Regions from separate parts of the Homo sapiens genome. Here region 1 is linked to region 2. The links are contacts of gene promoters, found by promoter capture Hi-C in blood cells and fetal thymus (Javierre and others, 2016). All regions are on one chromosome and are shown on one strand. The core of a region is centred on a gene start or on the middle of the fragment in contact, and the rest is flanking DNA. Distances in the headings are between cores, read along the strand shown. Region 1 overlaps LINC00933 (long intergenic non-protein coding RNA 933). Region 2 holds the start of KLHL25 (kelch like family member 25).

Evidence for each region. Contacts are between HindIII fragments. The CHiCAGO score rates a contact against its expected background, and 5 or more counts as called.
Region 1: a contact is called between a fragment that was not itself captured here and the fragment with the promoter of KLHL25 in region 2, in 1 of 17 cell types (total B cells). The highest score is 6.3, in total B cells.

The regions. Positions count from the first base shown.
Region 1 is chr15:84,573,642-84,580,094 of GRCh38, forward strand. LINC00933 (long intergenic non-protein coding RNA 933) reads left to right here. Exons shown (of 4, transcript NR_038274.1): 4 at 4,307-6,453. Among named protein-coding and RNA genes, the nearest start is that of LINC00933, 6.2 kb to the left of the region's middle. The HindIII fragment of the contact is 2,256 bases long and covers 308-2,563 here.
Region 2 is chr15:85,793,205-85,799,109 of GRCh38, forward strand. It overlaps KLHL25 (kelch like family member 25), which reads right to left and starts at 1,721. Exons shown (of 3, transcript NM_022480.4): 1 at 1,562-1,721. RefSeq lists silencers at 1,392-1,691, 1,842-1,911. The HindIII fragment of the contact is 2,328 bases long and covers 817-3,144 here.

The sequences.
Region 1 (6,453 bases), core at 186-2,685, 1.2 Mb before region 2:
GATTACAGGCATGAGCCACCTGCCCGGCCCGAAAATGTTTTTTAAAAAATTAGCTGGACTTGATGGTTTATGCCTGTATTCCCAGCTACTCGGGAGGCTGAGGTGAGATCATTTGAGCCCAGGAGTTTGAGGCTGCAGTGAGCCATGATCACGCCACTGCACTCCAGCTCAGGCAACAGAGAGAGACCCTATCTCAAATCAATGAATAAGTAAGTAAATAAATAAATAAATGAAATAATGCACACAATTACTACACTAGTACATGATCAGGCACATGATAAATGCTCAATAAATGGTAGCCCCAATAAGCTTTGTAATGTTTTGGGAAAGGGTGTCCTTTGGACTCAGCCCAGTGACAGAAGCATTTGAAAAGACTGATTTGTATGATGGCTATTTCCTCCAGGTACAAACCTGTACCTCCAGGGACCCAGGGCATTGGCTCAGTGGGGCACCTTGTTCTATTTTCTCTTGTTTTGGGCAGCACTGATTGCCCTAGGGCTAATCAGGACTGCCACCCCAGACTCCATTGCCAAGAGTATCCCCCTCCCCAAGCTAGCCATGGGAAAGCCACTTGCATCCTAAGACTACTGGAAATTAAAGGGAATAAAAAGCACAATTTAGTCGCTCACTCTCCAGCTGATGGGAAATAGGTTTTTGCTATTTTGAACAGAGCTGTTAGGAACATTCCTTGTCCACATCCCCTGTTTTATATTGTTTTATATAGGCAAGAATTTCTTTTGGATGTAGAGTAGAATTGCTGAGCTGGGAGGAGTATGAATATTCAGCCTTATGAGATGGAGCCAAATTGTTTTCCAAAGTGGTTATACCAGTGTATACTCCCAGCAGCAGTTCTTAAGAGATCTCAGGATCTCTATCTTCTGGTGATGTCACAACATACAAAAAGAATGAATGCCAGCTATAAACAACAATAAGGATGAATCTTAGCAATATAATATTAAGTGAAAAAAAACAAGTTCCAGAAGGATGCATACAGCATCCTCTATATAGCTTGGAAAAGAAAATGTGGGCATGGTGGCTCATGCCTGTAATCCCAGCACTTTGGGAGGCCAAGGCAGGAGGATTGCTTTAGGCCAGGAATTCAAGACCAGCCTAGGCAACATAGCAAAACTCTGTCTCTACAAAAACTAGAAAAATTAACTGGGTGTGGTGGTGCAGGCTTGTAGTCCCAGCTACTCATGAGGCTGAGGTGGGAGGATCTCTTGAGTCTAGGTGATCAAGGTTACAGTGAGCCATTACTGCACCACTGCACTCAGAGACAGTAAGTAACTTGTCTAAGGTGGCCTCATTAGAAGTTAGCTGCGGCCAGGCGCAGTGGCTCACACCTGTAATCCCAGCACTTTGGAAGGCTGAGGCGGGCGGATCATGAGGTCAGGAGATCGAGACCATCCTGGCTAACACAGTGAAACCCCATCTCTACTGAAAATACAAAAAAAAATTAGCCGGGCATGGTGGCAGGCGCCTGTAGTCCCAGCTACTTGGGAGGCTGAGGCAGGAGAATGGCGTGAACCCGGGAGGCAGAGCTTGCAATGAGCCAAGATCGGGCCACTGCACTCCAGCCTGGGCAACACAGTGAGACTCCATCTCAAAAAAAAAAAAGAAGAAGTTAGCTGTGGTGGCTGGGTGCAGTGGCTCATGCCTATAATCCCAAAACTCAGGGAGGCCAAGGCAGGAGGATCACCTAAGATCAGGAATGTGAGACCAGCCAGGCCAACATGGTGAAACCCTGTCTTTACTAAAAATACAAACATTAGCCAGGTGTGGTGGTGGATACCTGTAATCCCAGCTACTCTGGAGGCTGAGGCAAGAGAATAGCTTGAACCCAAGAGGCAGACATTGCAGTGAGCTGAGACTGCACCACTGCACTCCAGCCTGGATGACAGAGCAAGACTCCATCTCAAAAAAAAAAAAAAAAAAAGATTCAAAAGCGTTAGAAACCAAATAAATGTAATGAAAACAATCAGATTTTCTGCTTAAAGACCAGCGAAGAGGACAAATGGGAGGGGGAAACTGGAGCTCTGCCCCTGTTGGTGGGAGTATAAACTGAACCAATTTTTCTGCAGGATAATTTGAAAATTTATATTAAAAACCCTAAAACTGTTGTACGTTATTTTCCTCCAGAAATTCTACTTCTATGAATTAAATCCAAAAATGCTTGCTCTAATCCACTAAAAATATACATATAAGAAAATTTATTTCTGGGGTGGCAATGATTAAGTTAATATACATCGAGCTATTAAAAATGATGATGCTAAGGATAGATTTACTGCCATAGAAATATGCCTAAAACATAGTGACAAAAGACTATATAATGATTCTACTTTTTAAAATGTGTATATGCATAAAAAAGTATAAAAAGCAACAAGGCAGAATGTTTTGAGTGGCAAAATTAAAGACTTTTCTTCATATTTTGTCTTCCAAATTATTAGAAAAAGAATATGATTTTCTTTATAATCAGGGAGAAGTATTATTTTCATTTATTTCTATTTAAATTTATTTTCTTTTCCTTATTTTTTCTCATCTATGTATCACATATAGTCTAGAAAGCTTGAATCCCTGCCTCTTGAGATAAATCAGCCCATTTCTTTCTCTATAAATTTGCCTTTTTTGGACATTTCAAATCAATGGAATTATACAATATGTGGTCTCGTGTCTGGCTTTTTTACTTAGCTAATGTTTTTGAGGTTGGTCCATGACATATTGTAGCAGGATGAGCTGCAGACAAAACTCCTCAGACACCAGGTTAAAAAAGGAAGGAGCTTTATTCAGCTGGGAGCTTCTGCAGACTTGCATCTCAAAAGCCAAGCTCCCCAAGTAAGCAATGACTGTCCCTTTTAAGGGCTTACAACTCTAAGGGGGTCTGTGTGAGAGGGTCGTGATCAATTGAGGAAGCAGGGGGTATGTGACTGGGGGCTGCATGCACCAGTAATTGGAATGGAACAGAACAGGACAGGGATTTTCACAATGCTTTTCCATACAATGTCTGGAATCTATAGATAACACAAGCAGTTAGGTCAGGGGTTGATTTTTAACTACCAGGCCCCCAATTTTTTTTTTTGAGATGGAGTCTCACTCTGTTGCCCAGGCTGGAATGCAGTGGTGGGATCTCAGCTCACTGCAAGCTCCGCCTTCCAGGTTCATGCCATTCTTTTGCCTCAGCCTTCTGAGTAGCTGGGACTACAGGTGCCTGCCACCACGCCCAGCTAATTTTTTGTATTTTTAGTAGAGTCGGGGTTTCACCGTGTTAGCCAAGGTAGTCTTGATCTCCTGACCTTGTGATCTGCCCACCTCAGCCTCCCGAAGTGCTGGGATTACAGGCATGAGCTACCACACCCGGCTGATATTGAAATTAACGTTTTGCTTTCTTCTTGCATCTATTTTTCACTTCTCTGACATTTTGATGGATAAAGTTTCATTTGGAAGGATTTTTATTTCAAAATAGAAATAGCATATAACATGAGAATGGGAACTCTGAAAGGTTCAACTTTCTAGTCATTAGTTTCCTAAGATTGTCATGAAAGCCACATATAGTCAATCATGATTGGCCTGTATTAAAAGTGAGATAACATCATGTACAACTTAAGCACTGTACTTTCTATCAGATATAGAAAAATAGGTGGTGTGTTTGGAAAAGTATTGGGCTAGGAGTCAGGAAGCTTGACTGTTAGTCCCAACCCTCCTTCTTCAGCTGAGCACCCCTAGGCAATAATTCAGCAGCTATTTCTTAAATACCTAATGAGTTTCAGGCTTTGTAGTTGGGCTGGGAATAAAGATATAGATATTGCTTTCATGATTCTCCAAGGCTCCCCTCCTCACCCCAACTCACAGTGAGCTTTCTTATGCATTGTGTAAATTTGTCTCCTAACAGGTCCCAACTCTCTCTCCAACCTGCTTCCCAGGGAAGTTGTGAGGATCAAATGAGAGAGAATATGTATGAAAGCAAATTCTAAATGATTTTAAAATGCAATAAAATATGACCTATGGAAAATTATTTAAAGATCCTTAGAATTTTAAATAAACAGTACATTAACCTGAGTTCTCTATGGTTTTTATTTTAAATAGATATGAAAGTTTTACAATGAACCACTGATATGGTTGAAAAACTTAGCTTGATTATTCTCCAAGAAAATGATACAGTGGTTTGTCTGGTGAATTTTCTAAAATTGCCAGCCAAATAAAACCAAAACCTCTTTTGAGTTGAGTGACTGGATCAGTCAAAGGAACATTGACTGTGTAATGGAGAAATGTTTTCTGTGTTCACTGACAGCTTGCCGTTGTTTGATTCCAGCTGCAGCATATCATGAGTGATGAGATCTGTGTACAGGTGACTGACCTTTACCTGGCAGAAAATAATAATGGGGCCACCGGAGGCCAGCCGAACACACAGAACTCAAGAAGCCTCCTGGAGTCAACGTATCCACAGAAAGCCAAGCAGCTAATGTCAGATGAGAAATGCTTTAAGGTGAGAGTTGCTCATGTAGTCAAAGACCTTGCTGGTGACAATGTAAGTTGTTAGGATTCTCTGAATCGGAAGTTATAGCCAGGGTACTTTGACCCCGTGATTCTACTCCTGGAACTTTTTAGAGTTCCTAATGAGTTCACCAGAGAAATACAAAGTGGAAGTAACCATCTTCCTGGACAATCTATTTTGTTTCTTTCTTGCCTTAAAAAAAAAAAACTAGTTATATATGATTTTTACAATTTTGTATTCTTCTTTTTCCCTGAACATTTTTCATAATATGCTTTGTATCTCTTATTGTTAAAAAAAAAAGTTGGTACATGAAACCCATGGTCGTGGTCATTATAGAAAAAAAAGTAGGCCTGGCACACTTGGCTCACACTTGTAATCCCAGCACTCTGGCAGGCCGAGATGGGTAGATCGCTTGAGACCAGCTTGGGCAATGCAGCAAAACCCCATCTTTGCAAAAAATACAAGAATACAAAAATTAGCCAGGTGTGGTGGCATGCGCCTCTAGTCCCAGCTACTCAGGAGACAGAGGTGGGAGAATTGCTTAAGCCTGGGAGGTCAAGGTTGCAGTGAGCCCTGATCATATCACTATGTTCCAGCCTGGGTGACAGAGTAAGACCCTATCTCAAAAAAACAAAACAAAACAAAAAATGCAGATAACCAAAAAAAGTCACCTTAGAATTCTTTCCTGAAATTACCATTGATGACATTTCTAGACTTTCCTGTGCTTGAGTATATATTTTGAAAGAGTTTATACTGGACAAATGGTCTTTCACTTTATTTATTTATTTATTTATTTAGAGACAGGGTCAGGCTCTGTTGCACAGGCTGGAGTGCAGTGGTATGATCCTGGCTCACTGCAACCGTGCCTCCTGGGTTCAAGTGATCATCGTGCCTCAGCCACCCTAGTAGTTGGAATTACATGGGCCACCACACTGGCTAATTTTTGTATTTTTAGCAGAGATGTGTGTCAGATCCCAGGGTCCAGGTCCAGCCCATGGTGAAGTCTGAGGGGAGTGGGTGGGTGAGCAGAAAGAACAATCGGGGGGCCATAGGCAGGTGAAAGATAGTTTTATTCAGCGGCAGCTCTCATTAACAGCTTTCTTACACTAGCTCTCTTATTAGCAGCTTACTCTTCCACTGTTCGCCTGTCTCAGCAGCTTGAGCCAGCTGCCCCTACACATAGCTGCGCAGCCAGCTCTCTCTTGCCTTCAGGGTCAGCAGCTTAACTCCTTCTCTCTCTGGGCATGAGCAAGCCCAGCTGTGTCCTGGCTCCCTCCCATCTGCCTGCAAGATGGACAGCTTTGGCTCTCTCTTTCTCTGGGTGCCAGTGTGCTCATCATGTCAAGCCATGTTAAGCCAAACTGAGCCAAGCCCCGAAGAGCCATGTCTCTTATGCACGGCATCAACAGGGCAGTTATACCTTTTACAGACAATAGTGGCATAAAGCCAGGAATGAACTTACACAAACAGGTTATATTACAAGTGGAGCTGTGTGCTTGCACGCCAAACTCGTGAGTCACACAGGCCTAGATATCCACCTCGGCCTATTCCTTGACCAAAGCACATCTATGTACCTTACTATGTGGTTTTGTATGTTGGCCAGGCTGGTCTCAAACTCCTGAACTCAAGTGATCTGCCCGCTTCAGCCCCCAAGTGCTGGGATTACAGGTGTGAGCCACTGCATCTGACCGGAAAGGATGTATTTTTGCTCAATTAGCAACACTTCTGGGTCTTTAATGTCTTTTCTATGGCTATTTGATATTCACTTTATAGAGAATTAATGCCTGTATTGTTGGACATTTAAGTTGTTTCCAAGTTTTCACCATTATAACTGTATTTGTGTGTATATATTATATTCTTGCCAGGCTGTAAGCTTTACTAGCAGAGAGGAAATTTTAAAGCTTTAAAAGAACGCTGAGCTAGATCTAGCTTCTGGCTCTGTGTGTTTATTGACCAGTGGTGTG
Region 2 (5,905 bases), core at 471-2,970:
CTGCTTCCGATGTGGAGCATGCAATTTGCCTATAGCTCTTCTCTCCGCACCACATACATAAATCCAACTGCAGCCCAAGACCCCAGGATGAAGGTGTCTTCCATTTCTACCTCCCTTTTATCAACCACCCTGGAGTCACTGCCTGACAAATGACTCAAAACTGAAATAGCTGCCAGGCCGGAAAAAGACTGACTACGTCAACCTTCACAGGCACAGCTTGTGGACCCAAGAGCCTCCGGTCTTGGGACACCAAATGGACCCTGAGGTGGGGTAGACTTTGTGTCCTACTCTTCCCCAGACCCCCACGCAAGCCTTCACCAACATGCCAGGAATCCTCACAGCTCAGATCAGCACACTGAGCATCAGTTCCTCCTATGAATGGGGAGACTGGGACCCAGGGTCCCAGAGGGCTTGGCCCCATAACGGTCACTGGAATCTGGTCCAGGATACAGACCGTGGAATCCTGCCTCCTCTCCTGGTGCTACTGCTAACTTCCTTCCCTTCCTCTCTCTATTGGGCCGATAGAGTGGAACCAAATGGTCCAGACACCTGGCATTCTCTGCCCTGACTACCGAGGAGAGTCAAAGTCCAGCCCGCCTTCCCCAAGGTCAAATTCACCGGGATCCAGCAGGACCCAAGAGCGTCCAGATTAAATCTGCAGGGGCCTGGGTCCGCCCCCTCACCCACAGTTCGTTGGGTCAGGCCTCTAGAGAGATGTTTCTTTGTTCAAAGACAATGGGAATGCACTTTGGGGGCTTAGAGCAGCAACACAAAAAAAGTATCTGGTATCTCCCGGGCACAATCCCCCAAGAGAAAAGCTTCTAAAGCAACTACGAAAGAGACAGGGGGAGTGGGGGCGTAACATCGCGCGGTGTGTCTCGGAGCCAGGGCAAGTGTGGTAATTAGAGTCAGGCTAGAGGGCTTGCTCTGGACCTGCCAGTCTGGCCGCCACCCAGGTGGACAGGTGGGTGTGCCTTTGAGTGCGACCTTTCTCTGCCGCTGGACAGTTCTGCAAACCGAAACGAGGGACCCTGGCAGGCGGAACGTGAACGGCTCGGGGCTCCGCGGCCAGGCCCGCGCAAACCCTCCCCTTGTGAACCCCGGGCCCTCGCTCTGCGCCAGGCAGGCAGCCATCCGGCCTGGGCGTCCAAGGCGCGGGGCATCGCCGCTCGCGTCCTCAAAGACAAGCAGTCTCTCTTTCCAGGATCAATAGTAATTTTTTAAAAAAAAGAGTCTGCGGACTCAATGAATCAACCACTCCCTGGGGAAAGAGTAGCGGCTCCCGCGCGCAACATCCATTTGCCAAACAATTCATTCCCTCGCGCAGAGCTCTCGGCGAATTCCCTCGCGGAGCCGCGGGGTGCCGGCCGGCCGCCGCTCCCCACCATTGTCCCAGGGCCCCGGCCCCAGCCGCGGGGCCCCCTCCCGGGACACGTAGTCCCGCGGGGGCTCCGAGCGCTTGGTCCCGGCCCGGCCCGGGGTGGTGAGTCCCCAGCGCAGGGAGCGGGGGCGCGGGTGCTGCGGCCAGAGCACGGCGTCCCCGCCCGGCCTGGATACTCACTGCCGGAGACGATCCCCGCCGCCGCCGCCGCCTCAGAGACCACTCCCGGCAGCCCGCGCGAGCTCAACAGGCTCCGCCGCGGCTCCCGTCGGCCGGCTCTCCACAGGCAAAAACGCTCTCGCTGCGATACAGCCTAGGCGCCGCCAACAAACTAGTTTCTCCGGCCTTCCCGCCCCGCCTCCCGGCCCGAAGAGCAGCAGCCAATCAGAGGCATCGCCTCTGTGACGGATGGGCAGCCGAACCCTTCAGTGCAGCCGCAGAAAAGAAGGGGGTGGGCCCCAGGCCGCGCCGGCACCGGGGGGTGGGGGGCCGGGGGCGGGGAGGGGGGGGGACCGGGGGCGGGGCGGGGCGAGGAAAAGGACTTCGACCAGATTCTTAAAGAGACAGGCGCCTGCCCAACCCCGCCGCCCAAGTTTGGGAACAAAACGCGACGGTGTTCTAGAGCTTTCCAGAGGGAGCACTGTAGATTGCATATGCCTCTTTTGTGTTCGGGTCACAAGTGTTGTAGATCTCTTTAGACTCTTCAGAGCCACACTAGTAGTTGCCCGAGTGTTAATGAAACCCTGTCTTTCACTCTGGGCTTGTTTGAATGTTTGGGACTTTCTGCAGCCTCCAAACCCCACCTGTACTTGAAATCTGTATTTTTTGGAGTATTTCAGCTCTCCTCTCTGTGTCATTTCTCACTAAACTCCTTTCGTAAGCCAGCCTTTAAATGTTCGTTCATTCATTCATTCATCCATCCATCCAATAATTTCTTCCAGGAACGTTTCCTGGACGCCCACACCATGCACTCATCTTGGAGGGGGAGAACGGTTTGTGATTCTTCGTCCTTTTCCCTCCTGACTACTACTTCAGCTTACTGTGTGTGTCCAATCTCATCCGTAAAGCGGCAGATAAAAACTCCTCATCGGATTATTTGGGGGATTAAAGGAGACAAATTCCCAGACAAATGAGTGCGCAATAAATGTCCTCTCTTTTCTCCCTCCCAATGAAAATCGATAATTCAAGTAGGTTGCTTAAGGATACAAAAGGTAAAGCATAGAAAGTGATAAGAACGAAAGAGCCAAGCCTGGGGCGGGGAAATTCCCAGGAAGCAGAGGTCACCCTGACGGAGGTGGAGGTGGGAGGTGCAAGGAAGGTCTAAGAAAGTGTACAAAGATTTGGGAGAGGGGATAGGATTGTGACTAGTGGAACCTGGGAAATAGAGCCCCTGGGTAGAAAGCTGCTTAGACAGGACAGATATGCCAGGGTTAAAAGACTGGGAGATGATGAGAAGATACCACCAGGGAAGGCATTTTTGGGAAACAGCTTGATGTTCTGGGTTTGAAGCCCCGCCCTGCCCCTCAAGAGCTGGGTAGGACTGAAGCAGATGGCTCAGACTCTCTGGTGTCTGGTTCTTACTGGTGAAGAGGATTCTAAAACCTTTCTTGCAGGGGTATGGGAAAGATTAAGATAACATATGGAATAGGCCTGGCATGTAGTAAGTGCTCAGTACAGATTTGTGCTTCCATTTGGCCCAGATCTGCAGACATCTAAGGCACCAGGGTTCTGATATTTATGAACAATATTGGCCAGAGGTAAGAAGCTTGCCAAGTGCACTGTTAAGGTGCCTTCTGAAGAGAAAAGGTAGTGAGAGGTGAAGCCAGCTGGACTTTCTGGGTCCAGTGGGGACTTGGAGAACTTTTCTGTCTTACAAGAGGATTGTAAAATGCACCAATCAGCGCTCTGTATCTAGCTAGAGGTTTGTAAAATGTACCAATTAGTGCTCTGTAGAAATGCACCAATCAGCACTCTGTGGCTAGCTAGAGGTTTGTAAAACGGACCAATCAGCACTCTGTAAAATGGACCAATCAGCAGCACATGGGCCTGGACAAATAAGCTAATAAAAGCTGGCCGCCCCCCAGCCAGGAGCAGCAACCCACTTGGGTCCCCTTTGGCGCTGTGGGGGCTTTGTTCTTTCGCTCTCCACGGTAAATTTTTCTGCTGCTCACTCTTTGGGTTCACGCCACCTCTAAGAGCTGTAACACTCACCGTGAAGGTCCGCAGCTTCATTCCTGAAGTCAGCGAGACCACCAACCCACCGGAAGGAACCAGCTCCAACACATTAGCATCAAAGTAATTACTTCATTAAGGAAATGACAGAGATCACATTTGTAGTTTTATCCTGCCGATTTTCTAGCACTAGAGTGTTTATAGAATTGTTGGTTGAATGAAGCTCCACATGCAAAATTGATTCTTGGCAAGTTTATAACTGTTGCTTATTATTTTATGCAGGTTCGCTGTAAAATTATAAGTGCCAACCGCCCAGTAAAATCTGGTCCACATTATAATTTTTTCTCTCTTCAACTCCAAGGCTTAAATTAGGTACTAGAATATATTAAAATCAAATACAGTGTAAGCAATGGGACAAAATCAGACTAAGAACACGTGTGGAGTTAATCGAATTTAGGTACGATTTGAAAGAAGATGAGAGGAAGAGCGGAAGTTTGCCTTGCCATCTATTGCGGACCCTGGAGCATTACCGTCAACGCAGCCCTTACCAGCCAGTGTTGTAATGGCCTGCTTAGCTAGTCCACCTGCTGTGCAGGGAGCTCTGGGAGGGCAGGGACCATGAATTCATCTCAGAACTCTTAGGGCTGCATCAAAGTTGTCTACACAGTTTTGAAATACTGTGAATAAATCTCATATCCGTTAGAATTAGTTTTTACTGCATATGACAGAAAACCCAAAATTAACTGTGACTGAAACAAGATAGAAGTTTCTTGCTTATGCAAAATAAAGCTAAAGTTAAGCTATCCTTTGTTGGCAACTCCACAGTTGTCAGAAACACGGGCTACTGTATTTTTATTCCTTCATCTGTAATGCTTGGTTCCCATTTGCAAGGTTGCCCCATAGTCCAAGATGGCTGCTAGGGCTCCAACTCTGACACCTATATCCCAGACAGTAGGAAGGAATAATGGCGGAAGAGCATGAGATGTGTGTCTTCCAGCCTGGTTAGCTCTATTTATGCAGACTGCAGAAGTCCCACACAACACTTTTGTTTATGGACAGAATTTAGTTTTCCTACCTGCAAGAGCAGCTGGGAAATGTAGACTTTTATGTTAGTACATCACCTCCTCAAAGTCAGGGTTCTGTTAACAAGGAAGAGGGAATAGATGCCTGTTGTCCACCAACAATCCTTACCAATACCTTCCTCCCAGCATTGCCATCTAGCTAGTATTCCTGGTGGCCCAGAATCTGAAGTCTCAGAAATTCTGGGATGATGTATAGAATTCAATATATGTTCGTTAATAGATGATCAAATTCTTGGTTCTTTTTTTTTTTTAAAGATGGGGTTTCACTCTTGTTGCCCGGGCTGGAGTGCAATGGCGCAATCTCAGCTCACCACAACCTCTGCCTCCCGAGTTCAAGCGATTCTCCTGCCTCAGCCTCCCGAGTAGCTGCGATCACCAGGCATGCACCATCACGCCTGGCTAATTCTGTATTTTTAGTAGAGACGGGGTTTCTCCATGTTGGTCAGGCTGGTCTCAAACTCCCGACTTCAGGTGATCTGCCCACCTTGGCCTCCCAAAGTGCTGGGATTGCAGGCGTGAGCCACCGCGCCTGGCCTCTTGGTTTCCTTTCTACCTTCTCAGGTGTTCTTTTTAGTCTCCTCTGCTGATTCCCCCTCACTTCTCAGACCTACAAATATTGGAGCGCCCGGGAAGCGAGCGTAGGGAGCATAGGGAGATAAGAAGACCTATTCCCTTCCCTACCTACACCTTCTAAGTGATTTCATCCAAGCCCATGCCTTACGTTCATATAAGCACTGGCAACTGCCAACTCTGTGCTCCCACCCCGCCTTCTCCATAAGCTCCAAGCCCATGGGTGCAGCTGCTTACTGGGTATCTCCATGTGCATGTCTAGGGCACCTTACCCTCAAACTGTCTCCGCTGAGCTCCTATGGCTGCTCTCCCTGTGGGCTTCCCCATCTCAGGAAAGGACAACGCAGTCTTTCCTTTTGTAAGATAAAACTTGGCATCATTCTCTCCTACCCCATGTCCAATCCATCAGGAAATCCCTGTTGAGTCTGAGTACTTACTACTTCCACTGCCACCCCCAGGCTGGTCTAGAGACACTGTCATTTTCTCTCCTCTGTGACATTATGGCAGCCTCCAGGCCATCTCCCTCTTCCACACTGCTCCCATAGAATCTGTTCTCAACACAGCAGCCAGAGGGATCTTTTTATAAGATAATTTCGTTATGTCTGTCTACCCCTCGAAATCCACCAGTAGCTCCCACCTCACTCAGAGTGAAGGCCAGAGTCCTACCATCGGCCCACAAGCCTGCCCTGGTCTGGCCTGG